Linked DNA regions of Homo sapiens: all the other regions are linked to region 5. The links are contacts of gene promoters, found by promoter capture Hi-C in blood cells and fetal thymus (Javierre and others, 2016). All regions are on one chromosome and are shown on one strand. Each heading gives the region's core, a stretch centred on a gene start or on the middle of the fragment in contact. The rest is flanking DNA. Distances are from core to core; before and after follow the strand shown.

Region 1 (2,700 bases), core at 198-2,697, 260 kb before region 5:
ACCACCTTCTCTTCAATGTCCTCTTGTCCCTTTGCATCCCTGTCACTACAGCCCCCTGGTTCCCTTCCCCTGGGGTTGTTCCTTCCCTGATTCTACTTTTTTCTCCACCCCGATGCAGACATTCCCCAAGGGTCATGGCTCAGAGTCCACAGCTCCTTCCTCCCCTCTCCCCTTTCCTGCTGTCTCCTAGGATGGGGAACACCCACATTCCTGTTGATCCTAGCCCACATACTGCCTGTGGTCCTGGATTTCCATTCACCTGCTCAGCATTCCCACCAGGATTCCCTGCTTTCACCTCAAACTCATTTAGTGTTAATTTCAAGTCCTCAACTTCCTCTCACATCTGTTCTTCCCCACTGGGCATCCCTCTTTGTGTCAGGTTTGATGTTATTCCAGTCACCTTGACTCTTCTCTGTCCTTTACCCCCTTCATGAAATCAGCCATCCTGCCACATTGATTCCCTCCTGGGAGTGTCTCCAGAATTCCTTTCTCACGTCCATTTCTTTCCTCTTCCCACAATCAGTGCCACATCAGGCCCAGATAACTGTGGCCACCTCCTTTTGGTCCCTCCCTGCACATCACCCTGCACACACCTGCTAGGTGAGTATTCGTACAGCATCTCCTTAAGGTGTCACCACCTTCCCCAACCCAGAGCCTTTGGTAGCTCCCTCCTAGGGCATGAAGTTTAAGCTCCAGAGCTGGGGGATTGAGACCCTCAAAATCTGATCTTACCAATTGTTTGCTGATGTTTCAATCCAATATGTCTCGGCATGAGTTCTTAACCCAGCCAGACTGATCTACTTACAGACCTAATCATATTTTTCATATTCTGACCTCATGCCTTTGCTTATACTGGTCCCATCACCTGGGATCCCTTTCTTGGATAACTAGCACAGGTTGAGGAGACAGCAGAGACTAGGAGTCTGTGAACATAAGTTGGCCTGGTTTGGGCAAAGAGTTTGCAAATGGGAGCAAGGGGGAAAGATTTGTTTTTCTCAGGGCAGATCAGAATTATGTGTGTCCCAGGGGAGATCCAAATGATCTGACCCAACCACAGAATGGCCAGAAAAAGGTTGCAAGTCAGAACAAGGGTTGGTGGTCTGGCCAAACAGTGACAGGGCAAACTATCAATCAAGACCCAGAAGAGTGGTGGTATGAAGGAGGTGAGTATGGGACTGGTGTGGGAGACTCAATCATGGTAAGAACAGTGTCAAGAAACAGGACATCTAAACTAGGGCATAAGGAAGGAGGCTGGGTCCTAAAAATTCAGAGCATGAAGATCAGAAGAGAGCCTGCAGCCAGGCCCTCAGACCTGAGCACTGCCTTCATCTTGTCCTACATACATTCAGGATTGGCTCCAGTCAGAGACAGCACATGCAAGAGGTGTGAGCAAAGGATGTGAGTACTCCTCCTCCTGCACCCATGACAGACATTACTAATCAATTCTGGCACTCTTTCACCTTGGGCACAGTCATGGTCTCAGAATCTCTTGCATAAGAACTCTCGCCATTAATCAACTGCAAGTAGCAGGAGACAAACTCTATTTGTTATGCATAATCACAAAGTCGCAGGTAGGGCCTAGTCGGTATGTGACAGTACATTGGTCTCAGTGATAAATAATACAGAGTCATAGTAGAAAAGTGCTAGGTCAGTTGTTCTCAAACTTTGAAGTTCACCATAATCACCTGGAGGGTTTATTAAAACCCAGATTGCCAGGGTCCTCCTCCAGAGCCTCTGATTTAGTAGGTGTGGAATGCAATGGAATGTGAAAGCAAATTTGGGAGTGAGGCCCGAATTTGCATTCCTAACAAGTTCCCAGGTGATGCTGATGCTTTTGGTCCAGGGACCGCACTTTGAGAACCACTGCACTAGATAAAACCACATCCTCTCTCCTCTTGTTCTTAACTTATCTTTCAAGGCTGGCTGGAACCCCTTCTCCTGGGCTTCAAATGACCCCTTCCAACTCCACTCACAGAGGACATCATCAATACTGCTTGTGGAATCTGTCAACAAACATGTATTGTGCCAGGAGTAACACAGACAGGCAAAGTCCCTGCTCCCAAAAAAGACACAGTAGGGGGCTGGGGAAGAGTGACCCAAACAACTGAACAGGCAATTACAATTCAGTGTGAAAGTGATGGGAGGGGAGAAGCATAGGCAGCGATGAGAACACAGAACCAGAGCATCCAACTCGGTCTTGGAAGGTCAGAAAAGGCTGCTCAGAGGAAAGCACCAATGAGGTTGAGATGAAGATGGAGAGAAGTTGTCAGGAAGAGGGAGAAAACATCACTGTCTTGGGCTATTTCCCTTTCGCACACATATGTGTCCACATGCACATACTCTGCCTCATCTCTCCATGTAAACTGTAACATACTTGGATGAAAAGATCATCTTTAGTGTACACAATCCTCGTGGTGCTCGGTCCCTGGCAGACATGCAGTTTTTATTAAGTGAATGCATACATTTGCAACATCCTGGAATTGTTCTACATTTAGGAAGTGGGGGAAATGGGGAAAAGGGAGTGTGAGGAGATGTGGATTTGTCTGAAATCCCTTCTGTGGGCTTCTGGGGATTTCTGTGGCTGTGAGGATTTCTCTAAATACCCGCAGGACAGGTGATTCCACATTAAGCCCCTACAGTACACCCTTTCTTAGTCTGGGAGGCTCACTTTTACCAAGCAGCACGTCTGTGCATGGTGAT
Region 2 (2,700 bases), core at 2-2,501, 280 kb before region 5:
ATGTTTCCTATTTCTCTCATGTCACATTAAATCCAAAGCAGGAAAAAACGACTGAAAACAAATGCCATTATGAAAAGGCACCATGCCGTTCAAAACTCTTCATGCTGTGTGACATGTTGTGTTACATCTTAAAATGTTATATTTAATAAAAAGTAAGTTGGAAAGGGGTTCTGCCAGTAGTAAGCCAGTCTGGCCAACTGTCAAGAAAGCGGCTTGACAGCTTCAGCAGAAGCGGGAGGTCATGGCCGGTGTTTTACAGCTTTGGAAAATGTCTAACTATCTGAGCGGATATATGTGTTAAAACACAGAATAGATACGTATCCTCCAGCAAGATGATGTGGCTGGGGTTTCTCCCGTCAGGAACTGAGGCTGTTGAGAGCTTTGAGAAGGAAGTCAGGGAAGGGAATTCTGGTACAAACTGCCACATAAAGTAAAGGTCTTGGAAACCAGAGAAAGTCAGAGGCAGAGGAAGTGGTAGCACCTCTGCAGGCAATACCCAGGGGAGGACGGCTTGACTTCCTATCCCCTGCTATTACCATCTCAGTAAAATAGGTATGTATACGTATAGGTATGTGTGTGTGTGTGTGCATATGTACGCATGTACATGTTTTATGTGTGTACATGCATATGTGTATATTATGTATGCATGTGTACATATGGTATAGATATGTGGGTGTATCAGAGTATGTATTTATAGGGCATATGTGTGTATGTATATACATGTGTCTACATGTATGTATACATGTATATGTAGATATGTGTGTGCACATCCACACGTTTCATTCAGAGTCTATTGGTACACGGCCAAAGCACTCAACAGCGATAAAAGCACACGGGTTCATCAGGTGGAAAAGGCTGGCACTTGAATGCGTGGGTCCACTCAGCGAATCCCGACGCCTGAACAACAGGCCATGTGCTCAACAAAGTCTGTGTTTGTGTGTGTGTGTGTGTGTGTGTGTGTGTGTGTGTGTGTCTCTCTTCAAAACACTGAGAAGCAGACTTGGGAGACACTGGAAAAGGAAGGTTGTAGCAGGAAGAGAGTTTTGATGGCTTCAGCAAAAGAATGTTCTGGTATGACATCATCCAGGAATTCAGGGGAAAACTCCAAGGAACCCCAGCTCGCACCATCTTTTTTTTGGGAGTCGGGGGACAGGGGCTTGTTCTGTGGCCCAAGCTGAAGTGCAGTGGCGTGATCTCAGTTCACTGGCAGCCTCTGCCTCCCGGGTTCAAGCGATTCTCCTGCCTCAGCCTCCTGAGTAGCTGGGATTATAGGCATGCACCATCATGCCCAGCTAATTTTGTATTTTTTGTAGAGGTGGGGTATCACTATGTTGCCCAGGCTGGTCTCGAACTCCTGAGTTCAAGCGATCTGCCCACCTTGGCCTCCCAAAGTGCTGAGATTACAGGTGTGAGCCACAGCACCCGGCCAGTCTCAACTTTTGACTGCAGAAACCAATGAGTGAGAATTGTCTGTGCCTCTGCCCAGTCCTTGTGAGCTGCCATGCTTAGCACAGGCTTTGCACCTGGGGGGCAGTGGAGCTCAGTGGGGACTTTTAGACTGGATGTCCTCTGTCACCTTCACGGCATGTCCCTTAGCAGCCTCCCAGAGGGCTCTTGGCTACTGAGCTCCCCGTTTTGGGGTTTAATAAAACCCACTAACAAGTGACTTTCAACATGTTTCATCATGTTACTCCTCTCCTCACAGCCATCCGGTCCTTCACCATCCTCAGAATATCCGCATCCGACTCCTAAGGCAGGTTTCAAGGACACCGCCCTCTTCAACTGGGCCTGTAACTACTCAATGGTTCTCCTCATTGTTACAGAAACACAGCAAAGGCATTCCCACCTCAGTGGCTCTGTTTCTTCTATTCACCTGTCCAGACTATCCTTGGTTCTCCAATCTGCCTTCACAAACCCACCTTCAGCATTGAGCTCCAGACCTACGACTCCTGGGAAGCCTTTCATACTGACATCTGTTCAGAAATATCTGTCTAGTGCTGAGTAGAAGCGGGTGGAGATGTCAGAGGGACTCACATTAATTTTATTAAATACACAAAAATGCAAGCAACTGTATAAACGCCAAATTGTAGCAAGTGCTGTGATGGCAAAGTCTCCCAGGGCATATACAATAGAGAAACGACTTAGTCCAGGGTATCAGGAAAGGTTTTACTGAGGAAGTGACTTCTGAACTGAACTGAAATCTGAAGGATGAGTAGGAGTTAGCTCTGTGAAGGAGGAGTAGGGAGGAAGACATCCCAAGCAGTAGCACCAGCCTATGCACATGCTCTGCGGCAGGAGGAGGAGGAGTGAAAAGGCCAATCAGGCACTGTGGCTCACGCCTGTAATCCCAGCACTTTGGGAGGCTGAGGCGGGTGGATCACCAAGTCAAGAGATCTAGACCATCCCGGCTAACATGGTGAAACACCGTCTCTACTAAAAATACAAAAATTAGCCGGCCGTGGTGGCACTTGCCTGTAGTCCCAGCTACTCAGGAGGCTGAGGCAGGAGAATCGCTTGAACCCAGGAGGTGGAGGTGGCAGTGAGCCAAGATTGCACGACTGCACTCCAGCCTGGGAAACACAGTAAAACTCCGTCTCAAAAAAAAAAAAAAAAAAAAAAAAGACAAATGTGTTTGGACAACAGAGTGTATGACAGCCCAGAGGGGAAGCCCACCTTTAAGTGTCTAGTTTGCACCATCTC
Region 3 (2,700 bases), core at 12-2,511, 350 kb before region 5:
AATGATCAGAACTAAGTTTAGTGAAGAGTTATATTTTTTAAAAGACAATATGAAAAAGAAAAAAGAAAGTTAGGCCTGGAAGACCTGTTAGATTTCTTCCAACTGTAAGGTTATAAGAGAGATGATTCTAAGATGCTTCTGGTCTTGTTTCTTCAGCTCTGAAGGAGCTTCCAACTCATGGGAGTTGGCTCGCCAACATACAAAGCTTCATGCCAGCCAATCTTGGCCACATATTTCAAAGCAGCAGCTAACAAAAGAACCTGGCCTGCACTCCAGGATGGCAACAAATGAATGGTAACTTTGTAAAAAGAGGTTCAGTTTTGATCTATTTGTTTAACTTTTCTCAATGCAGACACTAGAGAAGAAAAAAAAAAAAAAACCTGACAGTGCCCATATGTCTTCATCATAGTGGAAGAAAATCCTACTTGGAAATTATGATCAAAAGTGGACTCTAATATTGACTTTTCTGGACTGTATTTTTGTTTCTTAACAAAAATCATATTAAGTACGTTTGGAAAGGAATAATGCTTTTAAAGGACTACATATATTTTGACACTGTTTGGTAGCCATATTTAATACTAATGGACCCTATAAATCCCAACAGGATCTATTTGCTTCTTTATTTGAAATAACACTATGGAAATTTTCTACTAGAGGAGACTGAAAGTGCTGAAGGGCCATCGAGGGTGTGCTGACCCAGCTCTGAGATGGCAACTGGTGTTCATGCCCTTCTATAAGTCCCTCACACACTGAATAACACTGACCTTGTAACCAATAAGATTGCAGAGATGACAGGGTATGACTTCTGGGACTAGGTCATAAAATATATTGGGGCTTCTACCTCGCACTTTCTTAGATCACCTGGGGAAGTCAGTGCCATATTGTGAAGACACTCGAACAGCTCTATAGAGGTGCATGTGGCAGGGATCTGAGGCCTCCTACCAACAGTCAGTACCAATTAACTAGGCACATGAGTGAGACATCTTGCAAACAAATCTTCCAGCCCCAGTTAAGCCTTCAGATGACTGCAGACCCAACTAACATCTTGACAACAACCTCATGGGAGGCCCTAAGCCAGAACCACCCAGTTAAGCTGCTCCTGAATTCTAGAGTCACAGAAACTTTGTGGGGTGATAAATGTTTATTATTTGATAATAAATATGATAAATGTTATTGCTACCTTTGGGAATAATTTGTTATGCAGCAATAGTTAATGAATATGGGGGGGTTAACATAGAGCTACCATGAGTAAAACTCAGTTTTTCTCTGTAGTGCTTAAATAGTAGGGGGCCAACAAGAAGAACCAATATGTATAAACCGGGGACACAGGAAACCATACAGAAGATACAAGTTTTGTCTTTCCAGGACTGCAATGAATGATTAGGCAATGCCAGACACCAGCAAGGTAAAGTGACCTTGGCATTAAATACGAAACGTAGCTATCTTGTACGCAAACAGGTAATGTTCATAATTGTCCCAAGGCAGTCTTTTACTATTTTCACTGAAGAGACAGCTACCAGCCCGTCGAGAGAAAGGCCAAAACCCAGATTCTAAAAGTATCTGTTGACTTTAAATGGCCCAGGATAAATCAGCTCCCACAGAGTCAAGGGCATTACCGTCAGCTTCTGATGTGAGTTCAGGACTGGAGGTAACATAAACCAAGCTAGAATGTGCAAATATGTCCACATGCCATCCAGCCCTACTGGCAGGCAAAGGCATAATAAATTCAAGGTGGAATGTACACTGATCCATTAATTTGGGGAGGACAGGCATGATACTTAAGTGCCTTTTAATATACCATTCAATCTACTCCTGGGGTTATCTGGGACCAATGGCATGCTTTCAAAAAAAAAAAAAAAAAAAAAACCAGGCAACTTGTATTTCTTCTCCACCTTGCTTATCTACCTATATTTTTATGAATGCTGGTAAGTGATTAATTTCTTCTATTAGTGAGTCGGCTCAGAACATTGACCTAGCTTTCAACCTCTTAGCCATTCCCTTAGGGAATCTTTTCAGAATGTGCTCAAGAAAAAGAATTACCACTGGTATCGTGGGCCACAGAAATCAAGTGGATAAAAAGGGGACAGCTCCAGAGAAACATGAAAAAGGGGTCTTGACACCTATTATAGGATAGACATTAGTGTGGCCAGAAGTAGAAAATCAGAGACAGGCCCAGAGGTAGAGACCGCTGGTAACTTTGGGGCTGCAAAAGGTATGGTTGAGTGTGGCATAAGAGAAGTAGATCCGGGCTGTGTGAGACTGAATATATAGTCTTTAAGAGAGAACACAATCCAAAAAATTAAATGTATAAAGCTTATCTGCCTAATACCTCATCTCCCTAGAACGTATTAACCCACTCTCTACTCTCTAGTTCAAAGCAGCACACAATGAGCCAATCCTTTACAAAATAAAAATGTTATTCTTAAGTAAGGTTAGTTATTATATGTAACTTTTTAGTTTATATATATTCATTCCTAAGTTTGTATATATTTTAATATGAGGGTTCTGGGTCATTTTTACTTTGGGAATGTATGTGTTTCTTTTTGTATTTTTCAAATTAAAAAGTAGCCTGAAAAATACCAAGACCTGCTTCAAATATTCTACTTTATGCAAGAGATACAACTATTTGAAGAAAACTTGCAGAAGAAATATTTCATTCTACCTTAAACTAAGCAAGGTGAGCAAAACCCATGCCAGAGA
Region 4 (2,700 bases), core at 34-2,533, 370 kb before region 5:
GTAAACTCAGGAGCAGGACAAGGATTTCACTCTTACTTTTGTGCTAGAAGCAGCAGCCTACATAACTGAATAAGAAAAAAGAAAGTATGTGTAAAAAATTTGATGAGGAGGAATAAAATTATCATTACTTGCAGGTGATATGGTTACATACATCAAACACCCAAAGAGGAAAAAAATTAAAACCACAGAAATAAAAAAGAATTTATGAAGATAAAGTATATAAAATTATAGAGAAGCCAATAACTTTCATATTTATAAACAATAACCAGATTCAAGATATATTGGAAGAAAAGATTCTATTTACAATAGCATTTTAAAAAGATAAAATATAAGTCAATTTTTAAAATGTTAAAGTCACTTAGAAAAATTTAAAAATATTTCTGAAGGTCCTCAACAAACATTTGAACAACATTCTTGAATTATATACCATTTAACATGATCTTACTTTGGAGCTAGACAAATATCTACATGAAAGATTCTAAGCTGGCCATAAGGGGAACTGCAAACATAAGTCAAAGAAGATTTTTTTCTATACCATGTTGCTTTGGCCCTTATACACTGGTTGACAGTTTCTTGCAGGTTACAGCTATCAAGATGCTCATAAAATCTTTTATATATCCCGAGACTTAGAAAAGGCAATTGGATTTAGCAAGGAAGTGGTCACTGTTGACTTTCCAGAAAACAGTTTCCACAGAGTAATGGAGCTGAAAACTAGTCTGCAGCTGTTAGCAAAAGCCATTCATTCCAGTGCTTAAGGAAAACAACACAATTTCTTGCCTGCTTACAACAGTGGGAACTGATGCAAAAATCCCACCTTCCATCTCCAAACAGAGAGATAAGTTGGATAGAATACACATGTACACAAATCCCACATCGCTAAATTCAGAATAAGAAAGGGAAATCCCAAGGTGTCAGAAATGACGAGGAAATGCAAGGTCAGAAGCATGTTGCACTGGCATACAGCTGAATGTCTTACAGTGGTGTGAGAACCCAATAAGCCCTGCAAGGCTAGGATTTTAATGCAGTTTTAATAAAGTTCACAACTGAGACTGTGGTCAACTACTTCCCTGGCTGAAAGGGAGCTACATCTGAGAGATTTTCTCAGAATAAAGCTAAAAGCTTTCTGAACTGGTGGGCAGATACTCAATAGGTGGTGTCTTCAAAAGCTTAGTTAACATAAATCCTGGTTTTGCAGGACCCCGAAAAGGCAAATTCAAAATATTCTCATAGGTACTCCTCTTGAGCCAGGGGGTTAGCTCCAGGAAAAGGACCCTGCTGCACTAGCTCACACTCCAAAATTGCAAAGCGTGGGAGAATTACCTCACCATGAGCCAGCATTCACAACAAAGAAATTCACACCCGGGAGCTGCAGATAAGGGGCCAATCTGAAGGAAGCTTTTAAAACTATTTCTAAAATGTATATAGAGGTGGACAGAGGAGTGGGAAATAAAAAAAAAAAAAAAAAAAAAAAAACAGAAAAGAAACTTGGCATTAGGGAGGTAGACAACTAGTTCCAATGAAAGTTTCAGTAAGATGTGAGCGATAACTGCATGCATAACCAAAATGGTAAGCCATGTATGCCACTTATGCCACACGTAAGTGAGAGAATGGGCATTTACGGATAGCTGATTATATACCAGGGAGTATCCTAAAATGTAACTTTCTCATTTAATTCACATAACAAGTACCCTGTGGGGTAAAATCATCATTCCCACTTTTTAGCTGGGCCTCGGAAAATTTCACTTTCCCAAGGTCCCACAAGTGGAACTGGAAGTGGAATCCCAAACTAGCAAAGGGGGAGAAACTACAGCTGTTAAGGAAAAAAATTCAGGACTTAATATCTCCAATGAGGCAGAAGAGGATCGAGGAAGGTTTGATTTTGAAGGAAGATGGATACCACTTCAACTCTGACTCCGAGAAAGAGATATTTTGAGATAGAGGGGAGGGTGTGTAAGGGTGCTCAAGACTGAATGTTATATCCTGCAATATATAAAACTCCACATGTCCCTAAACTGAAATCACCTCTTACTCATGCAATTATTTTAGCAGGAGAGGAAAAAATGATCTGACTTCAATTTGTTCAGCATTTATTTTCTAAAAAAGGATATTTGCCACAAGTAATTACTGCAAAGGGGGAGCTATTCCTGGTTAGAAAGTTTTTAATCATGAAGTGGTATTTGACGTTCTAATTATTTCCACAGCTTGAAAAACAAACTTGTCACTGGGCTGTAGTAATAACTAAGTATGACCACAAAAAGAAAGCTATGCACTGTTGATATACACGGCCACTAATTTTATAGGAATAACACTAAAATATTTACCAGTAAATATTTGTCATTCAATGAGAGGTACTGTTAAATAATGTAGGAAACAGTTTTATTCTCTCTCTTTTTTTTTTTCTTAAGAGCTGTGGGCCCTGGACAAGTGGTCTGTAGAGGGCAAGAGAAAGAGTCTAGAATCTCCAGGCACTTCTGTCTCCAATTTCCATTTTCCTTAGGCCTCCTTCTGCCCAGCAAGGCTGGTAACATCAAATGCTCTGGAGGCAATGGTTAGCTCAGTTTTCTCTTAATGATCTCAAAACATTTCAAAGTTGAATTTGTAATAAGTTCCTCTTCTACCACTGAACCACAATAATTCTGAGCCAAAAATAGTCAATGATGGTGAACTGTAATTCTACCCAGAAAGGAAAATAAATCACAG
Region 5 (2,700 bases), core at 186-2,685:
AAAATCTATAGGAATTGAAGAGTTCCGTATTTTAAGTCACATTTTTAAAATGTTTGCTTCTTTGTATATTGAGACCCAGTAAGACCCTAGTAAGCCCAGTTACTCCATCACCTCCAACAATATTAATCAAGTAGAAGACACGCGGATTTTAAAAGCTGTGTGATCCTTGAAAAATCTTCAGACTGTCAGGGGTCCTGGGTGCCTCCAACTGTGAAAGGAGGGTTGGACAAGGCGATTCCTTAGATCTCTCTCGGGTATCTATTTCTCTAATTCCAAATTCCAACAGGCATCCAATGATTGCTACCCACGTCCAAGCTTTAGACTCATAGCCCGAAAAGGGCGAAGCGCAGCGTGGTAGAGATCGCAAAGGAGACAGGAAGAGAAGCAAGCATGCACTTTTAGTAAGACGGCAAAGGAGGCTGGGAGGTACGGTGCTGGGTGCGGACTGCTTAAAAAACTTACTAGACCACAAATTCCAGATACTTAGGTGGGCCCGAGAACGCCCTAAAATCCCCTTCCCAAGTGAGGGCTGATGTTATTTCAAATAAAAAGAAAACTTAACTTCCAGATCTGTAGAGCTCCAAGGTGAGCTCGCTGTGCAAAAGCTACTTCTGTAAGTGCGCCAAGGGGCCGCAGGTACTTAGGCTGCACTTGAGGAAGTGTCCAGAGTTGGCGGAAACAACCCATCCACTCGGGCTCCAGGCGCTCGCTGGGTTGCAGCAACTAAACTGAGACAGACAGACACACAGATCCGAGGCCCCAGGCCAGGACTCAAGGAGCGCTGACCGAGACTTGCCCGGCTCTCGGGCCCCAGGCGGGAGGGAGGCGAGGCTGAGGTGGGGGGCGCACGGGCTGGGTGTGCACTCGCCGGTCCCCTCCGACCCGACCCGGGGAGCACGGGGCCCCGACCCGGGGACGACTGAGGTGGATTGTCCCTAGAGTTTAAGACTGTCCCTAGAGTCGAGGGTGGAGGGATGAGCGCCGGCGCCAGCACAGAGCAAGACTCCCAGCAAGGAAGAGAACCAGAGAAGGAGGCGCAGCCGTCCGCACGGACCAGGCGCGCGCTGGCTCCCCGAGCCCGGAGCGGCGCAGCCCGCGGCGCCCCGGACACACCCACTGGGTAGCCCGCGCCAGCCCGCCCCGCCGGCCAGAGAGCGGGAGCCGGAGCCTGGGCAGCGGAAGCCGGGTCGGGGCCGCGCGGGCGGCGCGCAGGGGACGCGGGGCGCGCGGCTCTGCTCACCTGGCGGTCCGCGTCCCGGAGCGACCGGCGGCCGCCTCGCCTCGCCTCGCCCCCGCGTGGTTCCCGGCGCCGGGCAGCCCCGAGCGCCGCCGCATGGACGGCCGCCACCGCCGCCCAGCCGCCCCGCGCCCGCCCTGCACGGGCTCCCGCTGTGCCCCGATTCCGCGTCGGGCTGCGCGGGCGGCCAGCGGTTCAGGCGCGCGCGGAGAGCTCTGGCTCAGAGTTTGCGATCCGAGAGCGGGATCCGCGCTCCCTCGGTCCTTCCTCCCTCCCCTCTTGCGGCCTCCCGCTGTCATCTGGAGCCGCTCCTGCCGCCCCCTGGCGGCGACCGCGGGAAGGGCCGGCCCCCATCCGCACCCCTGACCCCGGAGGTCAACAACGGGATGGTCCCTGGGTCCCAGGGGAAGAGACATCACCCAGTAGGAGGGAGTACGGTCTAGACAGAGGCCACGAGGGCGGGAGGGGGCGAGAGTGGAGAGTGGCCCAGCTGGCCAGGGTCGTCTAAGTGAGAGGAAAAGGGAGAGGGCGGTTGAGACCAGGCCCTGAATTCCGCGTTCATCTTATCCTGAGGTCTGTGGGGACCTGTTGAAGGACTGGGGCAGGGGACGGACGCGGGCATCCTTCCATTTGGAACAGCCATTCCGGCAGCATCAGGATGGGGCGGAGGCAAAGCGGGGAGTGGGCGAGGCAAGTGGTGCTGTAAACCTGTGCGAGAAGGGGGCGGTGACTCTAAGGGCAGGAAGGAGCCCTGGTCACACACACACTCCCACGCAAGGTAGGACGCGCTGGGCTCCTTCTGAGGCCAAGGGGAAAGGACAAGAGCCCTCCAAATTCCAACGGGGGTTAGACAGCATGGGGAGGAGACACACACACCCTGACGGCCAGAGCCGTTCGGGATTCTTTCTTGTCTTATTCAGAGTAATATTTTGTTGGGGAAAAAAAAGCCTGCTGCAAAAAAATAATAATTCTTCTCATTAGTAATGATAAAAATCAAACTTTGATCCCTTCATTTTACGAATTGGGAAATTATTGCCCCCAAAAGGGCATGACCAAAGTGACGCGTTTAGTTAATGGAGGGAAAATTGCTAGGGCCCCGTTTCTTGAGTCCTAATTCAGAGCCAAATTCTTTACATTCGAGCCAAGGTGTTCAGAGCTGGGAAGGCAGGAAATAGAGTGACTGTGAGGAACTGTCTCTTCTTTCCCCAGAGCAGGGAGGGGGTGACAAATATTTGAAGAGGCTGTCCAGATACAGGCGTTTCCCTAAATTTCAGTCAGCCTGTTTGTTTATCGCTGCCTCTAAAGCTTGCCTGCAGGGGTTGTTTTGAAAGTGCAGGTATACCGAGAGGACAATGAAGGAGGTGGCAGAATGCAAGCTCCCTGCCCCAGAGCCAGGCAGCACCAGGGCTGGGTGCAGAGCGCTTCGTGGGAGCAGAAGGGAGCTCCCAGGGAAGATTGTCCTC

Evidence for each region. The method cuts DNA at HindIII sites, captures the fragments that hold promoters and counts their contacts. A CHiCAGO score of 5 or more calls a contact.
Region 1: a contact is called between a fragment that was not itself captured here and the fragment with the promoter of CT62 in region 5, in 1 of 17 cell types (endothelial precursors). The highest score is 17.0, in endothelial precursors.
Region 2: a contact is called between a fragment that was not itself captured here and the fragment with the promoter of CT62 in region 5, in 1 of 17 cell types (endothelial precursors). The highest score is 8.5, in endothelial precursors.
Region 3: a fragment that was not itself captured here is called in contact with the fragment with the promoter of CT62 in region 5 in 7 of 17 cell types (M0 macrophages, naive CD4 T cells, M1 macrophages and 4 more); the score reaches 6.7 in M0 macrophages.
Region 4: a contact is called between a fragment that was not itself captured here and the fragment with the promoter of CT62 in region 5, in 1 of 17 cell types (naive CD4 T cells). The highest score is 5.4, in naive CD4 T cells.

The regions. Positions count from the first base shown.
Region 1 is chr15:71,374,875-71,377,574 of GRCh38, reverse strand. All of the region lies in intron 6 of THSD4 (thrombospondin type 1 domain containing 4), which reads right to left. Among named protein-coding and RNA genes, the nearest start is that of THSD4-AS1, 190 kb to the right of the region's middle. The HindIII fragment of the contact is 5,067 bases long and covers 1-2,700 here.
Region 2 is chr15:71,394,188-71,396,887 of GRCh38, reverse strand. All of the region lies in intron 6 of THSD4 (thrombospondin type 1 domain containing 4), which reads right to left. Among named protein-coding and RNA genes, the nearest start is that of THSD4-AS1, 210 kb to the right of the region's middle. The HindIII fragment of the contact is 5,021 bases long and covers 1-2,700 here.
Region 3 is chr15:71,459,472-71,462,171 of GRCh38, reverse strand. The region is part of intron 7 of THSD4 (thrombospondin type 1 domain containing 4); the gene reads right to left. Among named protein-coding and RNA genes, the nearest start is that of THSD4-AS2, 230 kb to the left of the region's middle. The HindIII fragment of the contact is 2,108 bases long and covers 208-2,315 here.
Region 4 is chr15:71,485,385-71,488,084 of GRCh38, reverse strand. The region is part of intron 7 of THSD4 (thrombospondin type 1 domain containing 4); the gene reads right to left. The region is part of intron 2 of LOC107984716 (a long non-coding RNA gene); the gene reads left to right. Among named protein-coding and RNA genes, the nearest start is that of THSD4-AS2, 200 kb to the left of the region's middle. The HindIII fragment of the contact is 229 bases long and covers 1,169-1,397 here.
Region 5 is chr15:71,114,239-71,116,938 of GRCh38, reverse strand. It overlaps CT62 (cancer/testis associated 62), which reads left to right and starts at 1,435. Exons shown (of 4, transcript NR_168260.1): 1 at 1,435-2,015. It overlaps THSD4 (thrombospondin type 1 domain containing 4), which reads right to left and starts at 1,468. Exons shown (of 18, transcript NM_024817.3): 1 at 1,241-1,468. RefSeq lists silencers at 1,075-1,164, 1,315-1,454, 1,485-1,544, 1,391-1,568, 1,605-1,654. The HindIII fragment of the contact is 2,227 bases long and covers 318-2,544 here.